Regions from separate parts of the Homo sapiens genome. Here all the other regions are linked to region 2. The links are contacts of gene promoters, found by promoter capture Hi-C in blood cells and fetal thymus (Javierre and others, 2016). All regions are on one chromosome and are shown on one strand. The core of a region is centred on a gene start or on the middle of the fragment in contact, and the rest is flanking DNA. Distances in the headings are between cores, read along the strand shown.

Evidence for each region. Contacts are between HindIII fragments. The CHiCAGO score rates a contact against its expected background, and 5 or more counts as called.
Region 1: a fragment that was not itself captured here is called in contact with the fragment with the promoter of WWP1 in region 2 in 1 of 17 cell types (non-activated CD4 T cells); the score reaches 7.2 in non-activated CD4 T cells.
Region 3: a contact is called between a fragment that was not itself captured here and the fragment with the promoter of WWP1 in region 2, in 1 of 17 cell types (naive CD8 T cells). The highest score is 6.4, in naive CD8 T cells.

Annotation. Positions count from the first base shown.
Region 1 is chr8:90,005,904-90,008,878 of GRCh38, reverse strand. The region is part of intron 1 of DECR1 (2,4-dienoyl-CoA reductase 1); the gene reads right to left. Among named protein-coding and RNA genes, the nearest start is that of DECR1, 5.9 kb to the right of the region's middle. RefSeq lists enhancers at 2,734-2,793, 2,954-2,975. The HindIII fragment of the contact is 5,232 bases long and covers 1-2,975 here.
Region 2 is chr8:86,339,302-86,343,822 of GRCh38, reverse strand. WWP1 (WW domain containing E3 ubiquitin protein ligase 1) reads right to left here and starts at 1,276. Exons shown (of 25, transcript NM_007013.4): 1 at 893-1,276. It overlaps WWP1-AS1 (WWP1 antisense RNA 1), which reads left to right. Exons shown (of 6, transcript XR_007060994.1): 2 at 163-233; 3 at 547-741. RefSeq lists a silencer at 726-1,185. The HindIII fragment of the contact is 10,725 bases long and covers 1-4,521 here.
Region 3 is chr8:90,641,237-90,645,498 of GRCh38, reverse strand. TMEM64 (transmembrane protein 64) reads left to right here. Exons shown (of 3, transcript NM_001008495.4): 1 at 1-388. Among named protein-coding and RNA genes, the nearest start is that of TMEM64, 2.7 kb to the left of the region's middle. RefSeq lists an enhancer at 60-389. The HindIII fragment of the contact is 2,145 bases long and covers 747-2,891 here.

The DNA of each region.
Region 1 (2,975 bases), core at 1-2,500, 3.7 Mb before region 2:
AAATAAAACTACTTGCAAGAGCAAAGGTCCCAAAAAATGAGGACGTAATGAGTCACCACTGTACCTAATATCGCCTGGTCCAATTATTTCTTCTTTTTCTTAATGTTTTATTAATACATAACATTTTAACCTATTTATGGGGTACATGTGATATTTTATTCCATGCATAGAATGTGTAATGATCAAGTCAGGATATTTAAGATATCCACTAGATCCATGATTTCTTCTTGCCTCTTGCCCAACAACATGAGCTTGGACTTTTGTTCTTGATCTATTTCATCACATTTTTGCCTGTTTCATTAACAGCATATAAACAGGTCTCCTGTTTACTGAAAAGAACTGAGAGAGATTTTTCTACCTCTCTCATCTTTACCTCAATATCCCTGTTACATCTGCACTGCCTTTGTGTTCTAGAAAAATTAAGATTTAAATGTGAGCCAGAAAAAAGGAAATGGAGACTCATCAGACAGAAGTCATTAAGTGTACATGAGAGATACCGAGGGCAGTAGAAATTAAGAGAAGACAACATATTCCACACACATTTAACATGTAAATTAGCCTGAACCCAGAACCCAACCAGCCAGACCTGGCAAGTAAGGTGAGAGCTGTGGAAGGTAACTGAGTTCTAGTTTTAAGTGGCTGCATGCAGAGTGATGCTCTGACTGAAATGACTGGGTTGACATGAGAAGACCAAGTTGGAGCATTGAGGATAATGAGTTCTGCATCAGAAATGCTGCACTTGGGATGCTTCTGGAATAGTCAGGTAGAGATATCTAAGCTGCAGTAGGAAATATGGTTTTGAAGCATGAAGAATAAATTAGGGCTAAAGGTAAATGGCAACATCATTTCATCATTCCAGCAATTATGAAAGCCTACAGTTCTATCACTGCTTTTATGTTACAATGCAGTGTGAGGGTTTCCCAGACTGGAAGGGATAAAAGTGCAGTTGACCTTGTATTCTAGACTTACTTATCATTACCCTGGCACTTCAATCTCAGAATGATTCATCAACTTAGGAAGAGAAGAGCGCAGGACAGCTGAGAATGCTGATCATTTTCTACCTAGAATTTTCTGCAAAAACTAAAAGTTGCTAAACATCTATTGCATGCTTTCTACCATGGGCTGTAAGAAACTCTGGATAACTTTAAAATTCCCCCCTCTTTTGATGTCATTATCATGACCTTTGGGAGATATCTGAGATCTAGATTATTTTTTGTAATAATATAAAGTTTGCTTTGTAGTTTGGGCAGGAAGTTTGTTTGAAATTTCTTCAAATGCATCCTTAAGCTACAAGGCCAAGATTCATCCATTAACCCCACCCCCACCACCTGCCCTGCCCTGCCCCACCTTGGTGACTCCCTCTCCTCTTCACCTGATACATCCCATCCGTCTATAAGCCCCATGCCTTTTACCTCCCCAGTGTCCCTCTATATCCACCACCTGATTTCAAACCCCTATCTCACAACATTCACAAACATTGGGGGCCTATTCTGTGTCATCTTTTAACTGATCTTCCGAGGACTGCTAATGGGATCATGTTACTTCTCTTCTTAAGATCTTCTAAGGGCTCCTGGTAGCTGCAGAATATCCAGATTCCTTCGCTCCCCATAGCATATGTCTTCACGACCTAGCTCCTGTCCCTCTCTTCTGCCTCATCTCCCCTGAAATTTACACTCAGGAAAACAAAGTACTCAGGATTCCCCAAACATGAACTCTTTCCTACTTTCCTGTCTTTACACAAATTGCTCCCTATCATCACCCAACATTCATCATTGAAACCCAGCTGTGAGAGCTCTGGTGCTTTCCCTAACACTCCCAGGGAGAATTAACATTCTCTCCTCTACTTCTGTAGCTTATTTATCTATATACCACTTGAGGAGTCCCAGACCCTACTGACATTTCAGGACTGATGTCACTTACTCCTCTTCTCCCTCCAGCCCCCACTTAATGTCCTCACTCAAGAGAGTGGCACTGTCCTTAGCTCAGGGGCCAAAGACAGAAATCTGGGCTTCATCTTACCCCATACATTCAAACCAAGCCCAGTTCGTTTTAGTCCCCAGTAGCTCTAATGCTATCCTCAGTTCAGACCCTCATCACTGGTGTTTGGATGTTTGGTCTCCCTACTTCCAGTCTTACCTGATGATATCGTATTTCTGCTCACAATTTTGATGGCAACATGTCACCACTGAGCATAGCCCCATCTCTCATCCTCACCACCAACCAATCACCAAGGCCTCTGATTTTACCTCCTAAATATCACTCAACTTTGAGTGTCTCCAAACCCAATGCATGCCCTCGTTGAGGCCACCATCACCTCTCAACAGATGAGAGGATTACTCAGGGTTTAGCCATTTGTCTCCACTCCCACCCTGCAGGACAAAGTTCTAACTCTTTAACGCAGCCAACAGGCTGCTCACTAAGCTGTCTCTCACCTCCTGCCTCCCCACTCTCTGTTGATAACCTTTATGCTGGGCCTTCACATAGACTACTCTCCTGTTTAAAACATTCTTACATCTCTCCCTTTGGCTAACTCCTACTCATCTTTCAGGTCTCAGCTTTGATATATACCAAACAACAACACTCTCATAAAACTGGACATACCTCCCCCATGAGCAGGAGATGCTTCTTCCCCAGTCCTGACATCTCCCTACTGTGAGAAGTTCAGGTAGTACAACTCCAGGCTTCTTTCTGTCCCCTTAGTCAACCTGCTAAGGATGTTTGGATGTTTGTCCCTTGAAAACTCATGTTGAAATGTGATCCCCAATGTTGGAGGTGGGGTCTAATGGGAGGTGCCTGGGTTATGGTGGCAGATCCATCATGAATGTCGTAGTACCATCTTCATCCTGGCAGTGGCAAGTGAGTTTGCACTCTATTAGTTCCCACTAAAGCAGGTTGTGAAAGAACCTGGCACCTCCCAACACCCTCTCACTTCCTCTCTTGCCGGCACCTCCCAACACCCTCTCACTTCCTCTCTT
Region 2 (4,521 bases), core at 27-2,526:
AACCTACACACACACAGAAAAAAATTTGTTAAACTTATCAAATAGAAAAAGAAGGCAAAATCAAGCCCCTGGAAAATATTTTATTCTGAAAGAGTAAAAATGTCAAAATTATAACAGACACTACTCTTCTTTGGTAATGAAGGTTTCATATATTTACCACAGCAGAGAAAACTCCAAATCGGCAGAGCAAAGAAAGGACTGTGAACAAGACTGATCATTTAAAGGTCGTAAAGGTAAGGAGCAAACTACAAAATTAAATTTTTTTAAAAAAAGAACACGAAGATGAAAGGAGAGTCTGTAAGTCACAGACAAGATAAGGACTGGTAAAATCTGCAAGGTCACTGGAACCTACCAGGTCACAAAAGGTGGAGGTGGGGGTTGCGCTGGGGGGGCGGGGGATGGGGAGCTGCAGAGTCGGTGAAGAACGGAGAGTGATAAAAACATGTCAGAAAAAGACGTTCCAAAGCTGGAGTCCTTGGTTTGCAACGCTGAAATTGGGGTGAAAGTCAGGGAACGGGCAATGAGTCCATGTATTTGTGTTTTCAGGGAGGTGTTAGGGAAAGGTGGAGGAAGGCGAAGAGAAGGCTAAGGAAGCCTAAGAACTGCGGCTGCAGAGTCACGGAAACACTTCGCTCCGCTCCAGGATCACTGGCACAGGCCTTTGCCAGGGCGAACTCCGGGCAAGACCCGTGACCCCACCCCAGAAAACTCCCGACTCCCGGGCTGGAGAAGGTAGCCAAGGTAGGGCGGACCGTCCCCCGACGGGTCCTAGGAGGGTCCAGCCCGGGGGCGGACGGCGCCGGGCGCCCAGCACCGCGGCCAAGGCTCAGGGCCCGTGCCCCCTCCCGCCCTGCCCATTCGCACCCCCAGCCCCGCGCCGCGCCGTCCTTACCCGGCGCGAAGCTGTCGGCTCCCGGCAGCCGGGCGGCCACGGCAGCGGCACCTCCTCCTGCGGCGGGCGCCCTCACCCTTCCGCGCCCAAGATCGCCATCTCGCAGCAGGCGCGGCGGCAGCAGCCACCCAGGCGTCGGCCCCGGCAGCCCAGGCCGCCAGCAGCCACTCGGAACCCGCACGCGGAGCTCGCCGACACCCGACCCTCCCCCCACCCCCACCCCGTCCACGCGCCACCCCCAGCCGACCCCACACCTCCCTTCCTCGGGAGCGCGCCGCGTGGCCGCGTCGCCGGCGCCGCGCCCTAAGCGCGCGCCTCCCCGCCGGCCCCGGCACCGCGCGCTACGCCGCGGCCGCCCAAAGCCTCCAACTCCGGACCCGGAATCCGCCTCCCCCGAGCATGCGCAGCGAGGGCGCTCGGATGCTGCCTTAGGAAAACTCCGCTCCTCCGGGTCTTCCGAGCAGTCTAGCGGAGGGGGACGGACAGCCAATAGTAGGGAGGGGCGGGGCCTGAACGTGTGGAAGGGGCGGGGCCGCCGCTGAGATTTGGGAAGAGGCTGCTCTAAGCTCGCGCTGGGCACTGCTAATTTGACTTTCCGGTCGGCGGCTGATCCCGGAGCAGGACTTCTTAAGGTCCGGGGGCAAAAGTAGGCTGTCCATAAATACTCCTTGACCTAGCTGGGTGACCTCGAACACATTGCAAGAGTAAATAATTGCATTTAGCCATTGGTCATACCCGAAGACTTTCAGTCCATTTTTTATTAATCAAAACGTTCATCTGTGGAAGCCCCACCACCTAGTCCTCACTCACATCAGCCCGGTGATAAAGCAGATACTTATTGACCGAGTATACGTGTCCGCACAATTAACGCACACAACAATCTGACAAAGTAGTGTCTACTGTCTGCATTTTACAGAAAAGTCAACTAGTTTAGAAAAGTACTGTTGGTTATGTGTATTGCTTTTAGAAGAAAGGCCAATGTGCAAATAGAAGTCAGTGGGACCACATTGCTTACCAGGTGACCCGGTTTCTACTTCAGAGAAGCAGAAGCCTTCAGGCATGGATTTCTACAGCTTTTGCCCAACCACCTGACCAACCCCCATAGATTATATCTACGTCCACACCCAGACTTACTAGTTTTCCTTCTATCTCGGAGGCTAGATGTCCCTGCTCCTCTCCACTGCCTGCTCCCCACTGTGGGCGGTCCTTGGCACATCTTTAACTTCACCCTCTCCACTGCCTACAACTCCTCAGCATAATCACGTTTTAAGATTAGGTCCTAAATTTTCCCTTGATTTTAAAACCTCTGGTTCTCTCTCCCCTTCCATTTTAACTGAGCTTTTTGAAAGAACTGTGTACCAAAAACAACCCCAACACTTCATGAGTGTGTACAGAATTCAACAAGTATCTCTTGACTGAACAATGCACATTCCCGCCTACCTCCATGCATTAGTTCTTGTCCTCTGGCTTCATAGTTGAAATTGGTGCACATTATATCCACAAAGATCATTCGAAAATATACATCTGTGTCATTCCACTGCTTAAAATCATTCTTTGGCTTTTCGGAGCTCTCCTGACAAAGATTAACGTGATATTCAAGGTTCCTTTGATGCTCACATGCTCTATCTCTCCTGTTATGAAAAACTCTTCACAGTGCCCCATATGTGCCCACTCATCTCTGCTTTAAACATGTACTAAGATTTTCTTCATCTTTTTGCTTTTGCTGTCTGGTCCCTTTAAATAGATGCAATAATGTGCTTACAAACACGTCCTCAGAAATTCCGTAGGTATTCCCCAGCAGGGATCTGGACTCCTTCTCCAGAATGCATGCAGGCCTCCTCTTCCTGCTCTGTGTCTCACTTTCAGCTCCCCTCATTGCTCAATTTCCTCCCCGTTCAGAAGCTCTTAGTACTCACCTAGTCCTCAAGCTGACACCCAATATTGAACCAGCCTTTTGTTATTGACTGTTTGGTTTCAAATGAACAATATTATAAATAGTATTCCATAACCATTGTTCATGTCCTTATTAACTGTCTTAGATAAATTATTAAAAGTAATAAAAAAGTATGAACAAGTTTAGCCCTTTTGAAACATATTGGCAACTACCTTCCAGAAAGAGCATAGGCTCAGGTATCACATCGCCCAGCATCAAAACACAGCTCTGCCACCCAGTGCCACATTCTGACTTTCACAGGCCCTAGGTGCTTATACCTGTGTGGGCCTCATCTTCCATAAAATAATACTACAAAATATATTTTATTACTGCATTGGTATGAAGAAAAAGATATTAACATTATACATTAAAATATTTTCTTTGACCTAAATATTCAATTTTTTGCCTTCTGATTTTAAAAGAAATTAAAACATTTTTATGGGCCCCCGAAAGTGTTATAAGCCTGAGGCACTGTGTCTACTGTGCCTAATGGATAACCTGACCCTCCTGCTGCCTATGAGCTGAGAGATTTGGCCAATTGCTTAATCTAATTGTGTCTCAACTAGAAAATTAATATAGTGCTTCCACATGTTGTATTAAAAAATATATATAAATTGCTATAAATAACACGCATAGAGCTACTTAACACATGAGCATGGCACATAATCAAGAAATGATTGTCATAATGGTTATCAATTTTCCCACAACACTACATGACAGTATGTGATTGTCCTTCTTCCATGTGCCCAAATCATCATGGTATGTTTTCATATGTGTATGTATGGTAGCTTATTGTTTGTCCTTTGTCCATTTTCTTACTGAGGTATTTCACAAAAGGGTGCTTCACACAATGTAGATATTAGTCCTTTGTAAAACTATTGATCTTTTCCATTTTTGTATTCTTCCATTGTTTTTTACTTCATACATCTTTCCCATCCTGAGATCATATAATTCATCTGTCTTTACTTTTTTCTACTTGTTTGACTATTTTACTTTTTTCATTAAATAATTTAATTTTCTTGGATTTATTTTGCAATGATAATCTAACTTTTATTCCTTTAAAAATAGCTCATGGTATTCCCCCAAACCATTTGTTTAAAAAATTGTTCTCTAACTGTAGTGGTTTTAAAATAGGTCTACAGGCCGGGCACTGTGGCTCACACCTGTAATCCCAACACTTTGAGAGCCCAAAGCAGGTGGATCACTTAAGGCCAGGTGTTTGATACCGGCCTGACCAACATGACAAACCCTGTGATATGGTTTGGCTGTGTCCCCACGCAAATCTCATCTTTTTTTTTTTTTTTTTGAGATGGAGTATTGCTCTGTCATCCAGGCTGGAGTGCAGTGGTGTGATCTTGGCTCACTGCAACCTCCACTCCTGGGTTCAAGTGATTCTCTTGCCTCAGCCTCCCGAGTAGTTGGGATTACAGGCACATGCTACCACACCTAGCTAATTTTTTTTTTAATTTTTAGTAGAGACGGGGTTTCACCATGTTGGCCAGGCTGATCTTGAACTCCTGATCTCAAGTGACCCTCCTGCCTCGACCTCCCAAAGTGCTGTGATTACAGGCATGAGCCACCATCCCTAACCCTAATCTCGTCTTGAATTGTAGTTCCCATAATATCCACGTGTTGTGGGAGGGACCCAGTGTCAGGTAATTTAATCATGGGGGCGGTTACTCTCATGCTGTTCTGG
Region 3 (4,262 bases), core at 570-3,069, 4.3 Mb before region 2:
CCTGGCCCTGGTCCGCCGCTACCTTCACCACCTCCTGCTGTGGGTGGAGAGCCTTGACTCGCTGCTGGGGGTCCTGCTCTTCGTCGTGGGCTTCATCGTGGTCTCTTTCCCCTGCGGCTGGGGCTACATCGTGCTCAACGTGGCCGCTGGCTACCTGTACGGCTTCGTGCTGGGCATGGGTCTGATGATGGTGGGCGTCCTCATCGGCACCTTCATCGCCCATGTGGTCTGCAAGCGGCTCCTCACCGCCTGGGTGGCCGCCAGGATCCAGAGCAGCGAGAAGCTGAGCGCGGTTATTCGCGTAGTGGAGGGAGGAAGCGGCCTGAAAGTGGTGGCGCTGGCCAGACTGACACCCATACCTTTTGGGCTTCAGAATGCAGTGTTTTCGGTAAGTGGGGTCCCGCTGGCCTATCCCTCTCCAAGTCTGTTTTTGAGCGGTCTTGTGGCGGCCCTAGGAGGGCGCTCTATCAGATAAATACCAGCAGAGAAGTGACATTGACGGCAGGAGTTACGATTACTTTCCATCGCAGCCTGGGAAGTCTGTCCTACACATAAAACATACCTAACGCGGAGCCTCGAAAGAGAGTTTGTTAGATAAAAAACTAATGTTTCTTTTAGGGATGGGAATGTAATTAAAAATGAAAAGCCCTCTTAACAATAGGCATGCAGGGACATGAATGGAAATGCCCATCTTTAATACTTGTCATCTTTTGTAGCAGCTTTGGCAACATTTAGGGAGGAAAGCTTTCTCTCTTGCTTACATAAATACATCCAGGGTTTTGATTCAAGTTTTTAGCGACATGGACCAAAGGAAGTGTTTCAGTAAACAGTGGAGGAGCTAGTTGCAGACTCCAGATTTTGGAGTTTGCTAAATTTGAAATGGGCTTTTTCTTCTTCAAGTAATTGTGCTTTAATGTGATGTAAAGAAGAAAATCCTACTGTTTATCTTTCTTTCTTTGGAGGAACTTCATTTCGAAATCACGGGGTGGTGAATAAAACAGAACAGATAATCTTTTGCTCAGTTAGCATATATTTTTCTTCTGTATCTGCACCATTATAGACTCTTTTCTGTCCTTGTATTCATATGTTTTGCTTACTCAGGTTTCTATAGCTAGTGTGCATCTCCATGCAACTGATTTAGGATAGAAACACTGCTAGTGAAGAGATCATCTTATTGGAAGAAAGGAATCTGGTCTTTACAAACTTTGTGACTTTGGATCAAGTTACTGACCCTGTCTGGCTTCACTTTTCTCTTTTCGAAAGTGAAGGACTTAAAAAAGTAGATTACCATGTTCCCCAAATTCAGTGATTCTAAACTACCAAGAGTTTATGTAGATTCCCAGGAACTTAACCCTTCAGCTAGACTTAAAGAAAACTTACTGAAATAAAGAGATAATTGCATTCAAAACCATAGGAATTGATGTATTTTAAGTGATTCTGATGCATTATTTTGTTTCAAAACGTAAATTATTGTTAGTTTCTGGAAACTTTCTCATTTTGTTTTGAATTAGGAATAATACTAACCAATCTGCCTCTTTGTGATGAAATTAAAACCTTTCTCTTTTTTCTTTTCTTTTAAATGCCTTTTGCAAACCTCTTGATTCCAAGCAACAGCAGCAATGACTATGGAATGGTATTTGGTAGAGGCAGTGGAAACAGATAAGGGGTTTTCTGTAGAGATAAAGTTTAGTGTTAGCAGTAGTTTGGTATAGTCTTAGTCTTAAATTTCTTTTTCATACCCTCCTATAGTATGAAATATAAACTTGAACTTTGACCCAGTCTTGGGTAATAATAAATAAACTGTCCCAGGACTTTGAAAGAAGGTTGGGCTAAGGAACCTAAATAGATTGATTCTGTTAGTTTGTGTTTCAATATAGCATGTATCCTTGGGCCTTTTCTTGTCCATCTACCGTGTGCCAACTACTGTCCTCGGCTCTTTCCACATATTTCTGATCCTTAAACCAGCCCTGCAGAAGTTAATTATGCACATATTATAGACTAGTGTCTACTAGTTGGGAGCACAGGGCTGGTGTTGTGAAATCCTGCTGTCTGCTTAGAATCTAGTGACCTTGGGCAAGTTGTTTATTCTCTCTGGGCTTCAGTTTCTTATTTGTAAAATGAGGAAAGTAATGATACCTACTTCCATAGGATTATTGAGAAGATTACATGAGATGAATACATGCAGCAGAGCCTGGCTTAACAAACACGTGTTGGCTTTTGTCGTTTCTGTTGTTATGACCCAAGGTCACCAAGGTACTAAATTAATGGTAGAGTCAAACTTTGAACCATGGTCTGATGGCAGTGTCTCAACCAACCACCTCTTTATTTCTTGAATATATATTTAATGCCTGGTGTAGTCATGGGTAAATAGTAAGGGCTCATTATGTATTTATCGACTGACAATAAGGTAGGCTTTTCTTTTGATTTTGTCTCTTACATATTAAGTATATAACTAAGAGGTTGTATTTTGTGCTTGGTAATAATTTAAGGTAATCATGTAGTTGAAACTGAGCTTGACAAGGGACAAATCTCAATTTAGCATTGTGTGGTCAATAAAAAAGAAGGGAAAAAAAAGAAAAATGGCCTCTTGCAATAGGTATTATTGTCACCATTTCACTGAGAAGAAACAGAGGCTCAACCATCCAGGAACTTCTTCAGTCACCCACCTACCAAGTGGCTGAGCTAGGGTTTGAACCCAGGATCAGCTGATATGGTGCATCTTACTGTAAAATTTTGACTCAGCCATAGCAGGGTGGACTGTGAAGCCCCTGGATATGGTCTGTTATGTCCTGTTTATACCTATTGTTCTGAACTGCCTGCTTACAGAAGTAGTCCTTTCAACAAAAACAGTTTACTGAATTCAGCCAAGATATGTGAAAGAAAAGAAAGCTTAGTTAAGGCTGATGTTGGTTTTAGTCTGACTTGACTTTCTGCCTTCTAGAACTCCATTCTGCCTCCTCATGTATCCTCTCCACCTCATACCCCTCCTGCTGACCATAGCTGCCCCCTTTTCTAGGCATATTTCTTGTGTTTTCCACATCCCTCCCTATCTTTGAAATCATCCTTTTTTTTTTAAAGAAAAAAATTCCAGTTAAAACTCATTTTTTTTGTGTGCCCATAATTAGAGAAATTCATCTGGGCGTACCTCAAAGAAGTTAGGTGTAGTGGTCATGTGAGGCCCAGGCTTTGGAAATAGATGATCCTGAATTAGTCTGTGCCATCTGGCCTTCTCCATTTCCTCATCTGTAAAATAAAGTAGTTATGAGGCTTAAAAAAGCTGATACAGTGAAGGCATTAAGTATTTTGTCTGGCTCATAGTCACTTCCCAGTAATTGTTAAGTGTCATTATTGTTTGTAGTGGTGGAGGTAGTTGTATTCACATTTTAGAAGCAGGAGCTGATTGTAAAGGATAATATATGGAAGAAGGAAAGGTGCTTTCCCTTGCTTATCTCCTCTGAACCATTTTTTCCCCTTCTCCCATGCATGGTAGAAACTTGAAATGAGATTGGTTCCAACATTTACAGTGTCATCTTGAAGTAGTTATAGTTACTCTTTTGAGCTATACTTTCTGTTGTGGGATGTGTTTAATAATACCTGCTGCAAAGCTGTGATAAAATATATAGTTTGCTCATTATTTACTATTTCTTTCTCACCATCCTCTGCCTTCCAAAATAAGGACAGTGAAGTTGAGCTACTTTTTAAAAAAATTTAACAAATACCTACATTGTACTTAACTAATTCCTGGGCACTGTTTAATCATGCACACATAACTTATTTACTGTTCATTTCAGCCCTGATCCTCATCTTATAGCTGAAGCAGTTGAGGCACAGTGGTGAAATAACTTGCTCAAGATTACACAGTTAGTAAATGTTTAGAGTCATTAACTTATCCAGGCACTAGTGTTGGTCCAAGAAGAGCTGGATTTCCCAGACACATCCTGATTCCAGTTATAGAATACTTGTCTTAGAGCACCTTAAAGATCAGACATTATGGAGGACTGGGTAAGGTTCTATACAGTTGACTTAGGTATCATCCCAGATGTTAGAGCAGGGGTCAGAAAACCACAGCCCAATTTTGTATGGCATACAAGCTAAGATTGATTCTTCCATTTTTAAATGGTTGGAAAAAATACCACAAGAATATTTCATATACATGAGAATTATATGAAATTCAAACTTCAGCATCCGTAAATAGTGTTACTGGAATACAGCTGTGCTCATTTATGTGTGTGCTATGTGTGTCTCCTTTTAAGCCAAAACAG